Regions from separate parts of the Homo sapiens genome. Here region 2 is linked to region 1. The links are contacts of gene promoters, found by promoter capture Hi-C in human tissues and cell types (Jung and others, 2019). All regions are on one chromosome and are shown on one strand. Each heading gives the region's core, a stretch centred on a gene start or on the middle of the fragment in contact. The rest is flanking DNA. Distances are from core to core; before and after follow the strand shown. Region 1 holds the start of PRL (prolactin). Region 2 has its middle 40 kb from the start of PRL.

The links. Contacts are between HindIII fragments. The study calls those that stand out against the background at their distance.
Region 2: a fragment that was not itself captured here is called in contact with the fragment with the promoter of PRL in region 1 in 1 of the 25 tissues and cell types used here (hippocampus).

The regions. Positions count from the first base shown.
Region 1 is chr6:22,294,584-22,300,322 of GRCh38, forward strand. It overlaps PRL (prolactin), which reads right to left and starts at 2,453. Exons shown (of 5, transcript NM_000948.6): 1 at 2,372-2,453; 2 at 1. The coding sequence starts at 2,399. The HindIII fragment of the contact is 8,347 bases long and covers 1-5,207 here.
Region 2 is chr6:22,334,530-22,340,268 of GRCh38, forward strand. No RefSeq gene overlaps it. Among named protein-coding and RNA genes, the nearest start is that of PRL, 40 kb to the left of the region's middle. The HindIII fragment of the contact is 5,085 bases long and covers 559-5,643 here.

The DNA of each region.
Region 1 (5,739 bases), core at 1,203-3,702:
CCTGCTTAAATAAGAACGCGAGCCACTCTGAGATGATTTATTCCACGGAGGTTTTCAGAAGTAATCCTGCCGAGGAAAGCCTTATTGCTCCCCACTGCCCTCAGCTGCCTGATTTGCTACTGTAATGGCTGGGATGGGGGAAGAACAAACGCCTTCCACTGTGTAAATGTAGATATATAATTATGTTTGCACAGATATATAGTTTGAGAAGTGGGTTACCTCCTGCATTTTTGTACGTTTCCCAGAAGTGCTTCTGTACTTTCCAAACATTTGGAGCTTAAATTAATTCTGAGCTAGGGTGTTTGGATCATTCTCTTAAGATAGTTTAATGTCTTGGGAGTTTCTGCAGATTTTCAGCAGTCAGGCTGCCCAGCACTTTGTAATTTTTTTTTTAACTAGGTGTGTCTGATAATTTACATTGTAGACACTGATATAACAAAAACAGTACAGTCGATCCTTTCGATTTATCATCCTGCCTGATAAGAATAAACACACGATTGTTTGATTGCTAATACTGAGTTTGAAAAGAATTCTAACATAAAAATAATGCTGTAGTTTAGATCTGCTAACTCGTAATAGTCCCATGCATGTGTTTGACACTTCGCCAAAAACATTAAATTTTTTTTATATTTGAGCTTCATAATAACCTTGTGAGATACACTGGGCCTTTGTAATTATCATCAAATTATACTGATGAAACAGATGGCTTAGGGAGGTTAAGTGATTTTCCCCAAGTCGTATCATTAGTGGGTGAGAGAGGCATGATGCCAATACTGTGGTCTTTGCACGTCGTCTTGTCACATCGCGTACACCTGTGGGCTGTCAATCTGCATCTGTGTAATGGGGGCCGCATGAGTAGCCGTGATGGCTCAGTGTTTACATAGGTTGTTGCTGTCACTTTTAAAGAATAACAAGTTCTTTGCCTTTGATTGATTACATCACAACAGAGGCCCCAGAAAGCTTGATTTTCTCCACTTTTCCTGCTCTAATTACAAAACACTCTGATCTTTGCTGAAGGTTTTCAAAGCTTTGTCATCAATTTGCTATCTCAGCAAATGGACAGTTACAGTCCTATATATATCAATAATTTATACTTTCAAAAGGAAAGAAACGATAGATAGCTACCAAATTAAAATCACTTGTTAACTTCAGTGGCATTACCCCAAAAGAATGCCCAATATAAAACTGTGTTTATCACAAAACTTAAGTCCTTCAAAACCTTTAAGAAATGCAATCAGAAATGCCCAAGATAAAACTAGGCAAATGCTAAAGTTTAGTTTGTGAAAAAGTACCTAAACCTAAACACTTAAAAATACCTAAAAAATTGCTTAGTGTAGGAAGTGACTAAATCTGTTAGTTGTAAAATAAAATTTTTGTTTGAGATGATTCCTATTATAGACTTTTAATTTTTCAAAAACATGATTCTTCCAAAAAGTTTATTTTATGCATACTATAATCATATGACGAAACCAAATGTATATTTTATCTGTATGTGTAAATAAAATGTGCTTTGTAGATAGAGGAATTGGAATAGCAGGTCTAGGAAATTCACAACTGGATAGATGTTCTGTAACTCTGAGTACATTTATCTGCACATTTAGCATGGAAAGGATTTTTAAAGCCCAAAACGAGATAAAATAGACACATGTTTTTGTTCTTCATTTAATTAGAAACACATTTTATGGTTGTTACTAATTTATTTTCCTTGCAAATGTCAACCAAGAAAGTAAAGGTGATTAGTTATTACTAGGCAGTCTGTTTTTCCTTTTGAAATGTCATTTGGCTTGAACCAAATTGACAAAGAATAGGAAAGACAATTCTGTTGTTAGTGTCTATTTTATGGCTTCACAATTGAAAGTTTCATCAGGTTGATTCAAGTTGGCCAATCCACATTAGAGGCCTGATAACCAGAAAATGTTACTTTGTCCCTTTGAGAGTTGTGGCAAATTGGACCCACAGACTCTTTGAGTCTTATTCTAGTCCAGAGTTTCTCAATCTTGATATTATTGGCATTTTGAGTTGAATAATTCCTTGTTCTGGGGGCTGTCCCGTGCATTGAAGGATGTTCAGTAGCATCTCTCATCACTATCCATTAGATACCAATAGCACTTTTCCCTCACTTCCCCACCTCAGTTAAGACAACCCAAAACATCTCCCGACATTGCCAAATGCCTCTGAGAGAGGATTCCCCTGTTTGAGAACCATTGTTCTGTTCTATGGTGCCCTTGTAAAATTGCTTTCTAGAGGAAACATAAGATTGTGCTTCTAAACCTTGTAAACCTGCAAGCTCTTGTTATTAGTTAAAATTTCACATTAATCCCCCCACAGGAGTGTTGATACAACCAACAACGCAGTGAGTTGTCACACATACCTTTCCATGGCGATCCTTTGATGTTCATGTTCGTGATCGTTGCAGGAAACACACTTCACCAGAGAAGATCTGGAAGTCTCACGGTTTTCTCTTTCCCAGATATTGGCTTTATAAACCTTTGATATCTTCATGAATATAATGAATCAGGCATTCGTTTCCCTTTTCCTGGTCATCTATTTCCGTCATTGAGATTACCCCCATAATTTCAAACATCAAATGGTATTTTATTTCTTATTCATATTCAGGAAGACATACTGGCCAGAAATGAACATTCTAGGAAGGATTTTGATTAATTAGGCCAAAAGGAAATGAGAGAAATGATGAAGGTGAGATCTGAGACTAGATTGGTTTGGAGGATCTATAAAACTACAGAAGTCATTTACTTTAAAATTTATCTTATTTCTCTAAAGTTTGTTGAATATATAGGATTATATTTCACTTAGGTAACAATCTCATGTATTATCAGTTATCAAGTTTCTTCCTCAAGATTGCTAGGTAAAGATTTTAAAATTTTTACACTAAATACCAAGAGATATAGAATAAGGATTGAGAAATCAGGATTTTCAGTCCCCTGTTACACTGTCATTAAATTTCCTTCATTTTGTTGCTTTTTACATTTTGTTTTATCTTTTTGAAATACACATTTTGTTTTGTCTTTTTAAAAATACATGTGTTTTGTCTTTTTAAAAATAGCGTATCTGTATGGTACTTTGAATGTACATCTTCATCTGTTTATTTCTTTTGATTTTAACATATGTGTTAAGTGGTATTATTCTCTCCAGTTTACAGATGAAGAAACAGAAGCTTGGAGAGACTAAAGGTAAAGAATATGAAAGAAGTAGTTCAGTGCAAAAGTAATTGAGGTTTTGGGCTTTACTTTTAAATGGTAAAAACTGCAGTCACTTGCGCACCAGCCTAATAATTCTATAGTTGAGTTAAATGAAGGAACAATTATTACTTCACGGAAAATCAGGAGTCATATGAGGAAGGCTGGGAAATGAATTCTCTTGTAAACATCCTGTGGACCCACTTCTAAGACAAACAAGCTATAACCCCTGATTTAAGAGTTTATTTTGGGGAAGTGATGCAGTAGTTTTCCAGGGCAAACACACATGTGTGTGCACACACACAGACACACTTACACCCATCATTCTGGTATACCATGTAATAAACTGAAATTCTAGCCAGTAATTTCCACTCTTTTCAAGGATAGCAGTGTGTAAACTGTTATTAACTTATGATCTCTCTACCTTCTCTGACCCTGAGCCACTCTGAGGCCAAGGTGACAAAAATTCATCTTTCATGGGCTTAAAAATTCCATTCACCTTTTGGAAATTTCCTAAATGAAATGACTATAATGAATAAGAACTAAGTTTTATTGATGACTTTCTCTAATTTTTAAGTCCATGCATCTAAAGCAGCCTGTGACCTTTAGTTTCAAATTTGCTGTCTCTTACAATAGACTGATGAATGAGGTAATTTAAAAAATAGTCTTCCTATGGCATTTACTTTTTCCTTAGTTCCTAGAGCCACATATGTGCTTTAGCAATTATCTGACTAAGTGCTCTTATGGGGACCTAGAAATCTTAACAAAGACTAACGTCTCTGAAAAACTATCTTCCTAATTGCCTTAGTTTAAGGCAATCCTACATTTTGAATCATAAACATCAAATGTGATGATTCATAGACTCTCTCAATCTGAAAGCTGGGTCAGGATTCCATATACTCACATTAGGTATTCATTTTTTCCCTGGATGGAGAGAGTCTGAATTATTAAGAAAGCAGAGCTGTGTGGCAGAGAAATTAACATTATCCTATATTCTCCTCCTCTCCCATAAACTTAAGAGTAAGAAAATCTGTTATAAGAACTGACAATGACAACTTAATCTTAAAATTTAAAGGTGTTGCAACATTCTTGGATAGCCAGGATAAGAGCAATCTAAGAAAACCTAAGCTGTGTTTATTCAGGGTCTGTCAGTCGATTTATTTGACTGCAAAGAGGTACAGGTTTCTCTGTAAAATTTATTGTGTGTCTCCTTGCTGCTCCATAGCCCCACATTTCCTGTGAATGGAATATTGAAATATATAAATAATGCAAAGACATATATTATGCAAAAATCATAGTTGTCCTAATTCTTCTAACTGCTATGCATGTTACCCCCTTTCACCTTAATTTTTATATGTGCTTTCTTGCCAGGCTTTCTCTTTATCAAACTGTGCCCTTAATTTAAAACAATAAAGAAGTTCAGTAAGAATAGGGTTGTACATTTTAAAACTTTACAAAACTTCATTTGTTTGCCATTTTTGGTCTGAGAGCTTGTGATGCAACTGAGGGGTGATGATTGATTTATGTCAAGTAGCTGAATAAATAGCTCAAATGATGCTAAAGTTCCCATGCTATGTTTAGTACCTGAAACTAATAAACAAGGTTGCCATCTTTTCTAAAGAACGCTAGTTTTTAACATTAAGTAACATCAGGTTGGTTTTTATTCCTAATTTAGAACAAAGTTTGTATTTTCTTTTGTTTATCTGTTTTTAAGTTTGGAATAATTTTGTTTTTTCTTCTGTCACGTATGAAGCAAAGTATATTTAAAATCCTTCACAGGGCGGGCGCAGTGGCTCACGCCTGTAATCCCAGCACTTTGGGAGGCTGAGGCAGGAGGATCAAGAGATCAGGAGTTCGACACCAGTCTGATCAATATGGTGAAACCCTGTATCTACTAAAAATACAAAAATTAGCTAGGCGTGGTGGCAGGCGCCTGTAGTCCCAGCTACTCAGGAGGCTGAGGCAGGAGAATCGCTTGAACCCAGGAGGCAGAGGTTGCAGTGAGCCAAGTTCACGCCACTGCACTCCAGCCTGGGTGACAGAGGGAGACTCCATCTCAAAAAAACAAAAAAAAATTTCTTCACATAACCTAGGAGGTGTCTACTGCAAAATATGCTAAGGGATATTAAAGAGTGAAAGAAATTAAGAGTTAAAAAAATCCTCAGAATGAATGTATCACAAAGATATTTCAATTTATATTAGTAGTGAATTGTCTTAAATAAAATGAAATATGAAATGATTAAAGGAGTATTGTCTATGAATTGAAAAATTCTGAATAGTCGTCTTCTAATGACTAAAAAATTAAATAGGACGTGTGCTGTTTTCAATATAAAATATTAGACAATGTAAAGGGCACATTGGAGAAGAGATCAATAGTGGTTTTTTTTGAATGGCACTATTTTTAGAATAAGCAAAATGCAATGACTTAATTACATCCTACTATTTAGATTAACTTCATACATATTGTTGAATTGAATTTGGCCTAATGCTGCCCCATTTTCAGTAAACTGCAATCTAACTTAGTATGTAAACAAACTGCAAC
Region 2 (5,739 bases), core at 1,851-4,350, 41 kb after region 1:
GGGCCATTCTGTAGCTCATCTGTCATAGCTCCCTTCAGGTGAGTTGATGCTAAGAAGGCAGTTTTGTTTGTCTTCATCCTGGATTATGCCCATGGTGCTTGTTACTGTAATTATATACTGTAATGAAATACTGTGTAAATCAGTGACATATGAGTGTGTGAAAAGAACTATATAAATAAAAACTAAAATTGAACTTTAGCAAGACCCTTGAGTCAAGAAACATTACTATCAAATTAGGAATCACCTATCAACTATAAACAATTTTTAAAAATCAAATCGTAAGAGTCTGTACTCAGATTTAGTTTCCATTGTTTTTATATTATTTTAATTAAAAGAACCCAAATCTAGAAATCATAGATGATGTATAGTATGTGTGACTTTTATACACTCACACAAAAGGGAGGGCTGTGCTGGAAACTCCACTCACAGAACCTACTCAAAGTAGAGACCATGGCCACCTAGAAAGTGAAAGTGAAGCTTTTTTTTTTTTTTTTAACATTCGTTGGTTATAATTATTGCCTCTGATAAACTTTTTCAATAAAGAAAGACACTACTGGTGCTGATCACTTGGTTAAGGGAGATTCTACCATTGGCTGTAGTTTCCTGTGAGATAGTCACAGGGTATATACACATATTAAGCTTCTGATAACTTCTGCAGTAAAGAAATTCAATTATGTTTATTTAACTCAGTGTTTCACAAAATTTTTTGGATCTTACAACTCTTTTCTGGTTCACATTTTGGGGAATTATAATTCTAAAGTAAAACGTTCAATTCTCTACTATTTGTGATATATTACCAGTGTTAAAAACTATCCTATGTCCTATGGGGAAGACAAAGATAATTCAGACATAGCCGTAACTCTCAGGAGTTTATTATTTAATGTGAGAAAATATACATGCATAATTAAATGTAATATGCTGAGACAGAGAAAAATATGATAAGATAGATTAAAAATCTTAACTTTATATTTGAAGATACTAGGACACAGAGAGGTTTAAATATCTTAGTTAAAGTTGAGCAGGGTAACATGAACTAGAAGCCTGATACATCTGACTCCTAGTTGGATATTCTCTTTAGTTCAACATGATATAACATATACACATAGAGTCTGAGAAGCAGGAAGCAAAGTTTCACAGTTTTCACCGAAATTAATTATTTTTAAGAGAATTGAATTACAAAAATAATTTTATCACTGATTCAGGTTCCTAATTTTGTTTTATGGAATGTGGAATAATGCATATAAAAAGCAATGTGTATCATTTTTAGTATGCTTCCTTTTAGGTACTTAATTTTTTAAGCATTATTCTTCAATAAGCCATTCAAACATTCTCCCCGCCCCCAATATTGGTATAAAAGTGTTTTCCCTGGAAAGATAGGCTGTATTGATAGCCAGCCAGTCACTAAAACATACAGAATGCCACCTATGACTAGAACAACTAAAGCCTCATCTTCCATGTTATAATACCAAGAAATTTTGGCCTGGCATGGTGGCTCATGCCTATAATTCCAGCACTTTGGGAGGCTGAGGCAGGCAGACAACTTGACGTCAGGTGTTCAAGACCAGCCTGGCCAACATGGTGAAACCCCATCTCTACTAAAAATACAAAAATTAGCCGGTCATGGTGGCGCATGCCTGTAATCCTACTCGGGAGGCTGAGGCAGGAGAATCTCTGGAACCCAGGAGGTGGAGGTTGCAGTGAGCTGAGGTGGTACCACTGCACTCCAGCCTGGGTGACAGGGTGAGGCTGTCTCAAAAAAAAATAAATTTCAAAAAAAGTTTTCATTGAAAAACATATTTCTGGAAAGTCTTTTAGTAGTTTGCTCCAATTTATTGGATTAAAAGATCGGAGAAGAGAATACAGATAGTTTTTTAGAAAAATCTGCTATTTGTATGTATTTAGAAAATATATTTTATGAAAATAATATTCTTGAACAATACACTTATAATGGTTACTTGTTGAGGGGTTATTCTTGGACAATAAACTTATACAATGACAGAATATCATCTATTCCTTTTTCTTTATTGCAGTAAAATTTCTTCCTAGAGAAAGAAAAAGGATAAGTTAAAAAAGAAAACACACGCACAACACCACCTAAGATGTTATTTACAGTAAATACCAATGTCGTTGTTTCTCTTTTTCTCTTTTTTAGAGATAGTGTCTCACTCTGTTGCCCAAGCTGGAGTGCAGTAGTGTGATCATAGCTCACTGTAACCTCAGATTCTTGGCCTCAAATGATCCTTCCATCTTAGCCGCCAGAGTAGGTTGGACTACAGACATGCACCATGATACTCAGCTAATTTTTAATTTTTTTTATAGAGACGGAGTTCTCACTACGTTTTCCATGCTGAGTGTGAGCTCTTGGCCTCAAGTGATCCTCCCACTTCTGCCTCCTAAAGTGCTGGGATAACAGGTGAGAACCACTGTGCTTGGCATGTTGTTTCTTTCTAAAATTCAGTGTAGATGTCTAAAAGGCAAGAGACAATAATGTACATTTAAAATCAATATTTTCAGTTATAAAATTGGAGGATTAAAAATCCCCTTACAATTTTGAAATAGTGCACTTGAATTTTTCATTATTTTATAACCTTCCCTTTTAACCCGTTTCTCTATCTGAAAATGCTTCTTTATTTGGTAGGTCTGTTTGGTTGTAAAATATAATTCTAGGGTTTTAAACATATGTCCTTATTTTCTGGAAGCAAAGTCCAAGAAATGCCTGCATAACTGAGCAGTTTTAGAAGTATAGGAATGGCATGTCAAAAACATGGAGATGGGTGAGTAAGCTTTGTCCAGAGAGCCGCTGAAAGTTCAAAGTTCCTTTTAGCCCATTTTGCCTGGAGCATGGGGTATGTGGTTGGGGTGTATAAAATAATTTAGGGTTAGATTGAGAAGGGACTGATGTGACATGTTGATGACTTTGAGTTATTTTCTTAAAGAATGGTAAACTTTTAAGGAGGTTGGAAGTGAGGAAAATTTTTAGGAGGAATATGAAAGCAACGTTTTTTTCCCCTAGAAAAGCACAGACTAACATAGTTACAGACTATGAGTTTTTCTGTTAAAAACCGGACATCTCAACTATCATTGCCTTAGGTGTAACTACTGTTTCTGCTAAAATAAAAAAGAAGAAAACTGTGTATAGTTCCTCTTGCATGTCAATTATTCATTTTAAAGGTGATGTATAGTTTTTCTTGCATGTCAGTTATTCATTTTAAAGGTGAAGCAGCTGCTTTAAGTGTACATTTATAAGAGTGTTTCACTGAAGCAGGATTTTGTCTGCTTGGATAATCTTCCTTCTTTCAGAGATCTTCATTGCTTTTCCTTTATGAGAGCTCAAAAGAGTATTGGGTATTGAGAAGATTGAGAAAAGACAGGTTTAAAACAAGCTCTGACGTAGTCTGAAAGTGTAATGCAACCTAAAGAAAGGCAAACCAAGGGAGAGAAGACAGGGGGCTCTTGCGAAGTCCAGGCATGGCAGCTCATGATGTGGATAGATACAAAAGATGTGTTGGTAGAATTGCCAGATTTGGATGATTGTAAGGGAAAGGAAGAAAAAAAATTAGTAGAGTTTGTGATTTGGGCAATGAACTATATGGTGAGACAGGAACACTAGACAGGTCAGAGAGAGGCGAGGTAGAGTGCTTTGCAAGTTCTCGCGTGTCTGTTTCCAGACTAAAGAGTTTGAAGCATTTTCAAGAGAGAAAGATCTCCATACTTATCAAAATTACAGGTTCATCAAGAGCTATGATTCCTGCTTCCTGTTAAAGCTGCCTAATGTGATTTTTAGCGTAGCTGCAAACAGATGAGCTTCCCCTTTGATTTGGGCAGGGTAAAACAACCCAGGAGAATACTTGTGTTTTTTGTATGTCTTTATTTATTGGTACTATTGCTTTGGTAGCTCAATACCATTAAGTTAATATATGTAGTGTTATTTAAGAGGAGATGTATTACCCAAAAGATAAATTCAAATCTGTATAACAACAGACTGATATATTGTATCTTTTAGTAAAGGAAGTAATTGTGTGTCTAATTCTGCCTTTGCTATACAGGAAAATAGCTTTTCCTTGCCATAAGAAATATTTGTTTGAAGAAGGCTGAAGACATATATTTATGTATATAGTTGGTTGTTTGAGTGATACAAAAAATGAAGTTAGTAAATATCTGTTACGTCTTCTACCAGAAATTTGACATTCATCGTAAATTGGGCAATGCTATTTTACATTATTACTGAAATGAAATGAAACATGTAAAATGAATGAGTTATATTTTATAAGGTAGGACTACTTTGTGGGTGATGTATTTGTAATGGTATTTTATTATATGTTTCCTGATGTGAGGGAAATATACATTGTGACATGTTCTGAGGTGATTTAGATTTCTACGGGACAAATGAACTGGGCTTTTTGACTGAGATGAATACATCAAATTGTTTGGTTTAACATTTGATGTTGCTTTACATGTAGACTTCATAATAGAGTTTCGAATATATAAAAGGGTATTCATTCAAGAAACTACAGTTAGAAAATCATTTTAAATATTTAATGATTTAATTCAGTTTTATTAGTGTGACACTCTTTGCATTGCCAATTAAAAATTGACAAGGGTCTCATCTGTTTTTTCCCTTTTTGGACAGTATTATTTTAGATTTGTTTGTTCTTATTTTTATAAACAGTGATAAATACTAATTTCTTAAATTGTTTTTCCACATCCAATGAAATTACCGAGAAGAAAAGCAGTAAGAAATTTGAAGCATTGAAAACAACAGGGCCGGGCGCGGTGGCTCATGCCTGTAATCCCAGCACTTTGGGAGGCCCAGGTGGGTGGATCACGAGGTCAGGAGATCGAGACCATCCTGGCTAACGCGGTGAAACCCCGTCTCTACTAAAAATACAAAAAATTAGCCGCGCGTAGTGGCGGGCACGTGTAGTCCCAGCTACCTGGGAGGCTGAGGCAGGAGAATGGCGTGAACCTGGGAGGCAGAGCTTGCAGTGAGCAGAGATGGCGTCACTGCACTCCAGCCTGGGCAACTGAGCAAGACTCCATCTCAAAAACAACAACAACAACAACAACAACAACAACAACAACAACAACAACAACAACAGGATTTGCCTATTATGTTACTCTGTTGATTCAGATTCTGTTACTGTTACTTTATGATCATGTCTCTAGAGAAATCTGATTTGCTTTACTCTATGGTACCAGGCTTTGCCAGAATACTGAAACTGTTTCAAGTCCTAGGACTCAGGCTAGGACACAATGACGCTCTCAATTGCACTGAACCTTGGGGCAAAGAAGAGAGTGAGGCAAGATAGTGGTCAAGCCAACAGTGAGGAAGAATGAAGAGCGAATTGCATGAACACCACCACTCCCCGCAGTGTGTTCACTGTGAGGAGTTTGTGAGAAGGGAAGGAACCTCAGGTTTATACTTCAGGATTATATAGGTATTCCTAGGGTACTGGTTATAGAAATACCATAGAAATCAGAGAGAGACTTTGGCCATATGGGTCACTGTGGTGATTCATATTCACATTCTACCTATATTTATTGATATAAGAATCTATGCCCATGTAGCTCTGGACAATTTGATGGCTTGAGAAATTTTACTGACAAGATGAGGGAAGAGGAAGAGAGTATATAGATTGTAATATTTACCCAATGGGCAGCAGTTGGCCCCGGGTAGCAAAAGATATAGTTCTCTAGAGTCTCCTAGCTTATTCAACCTGCCCACAGGCTGCATGCGGC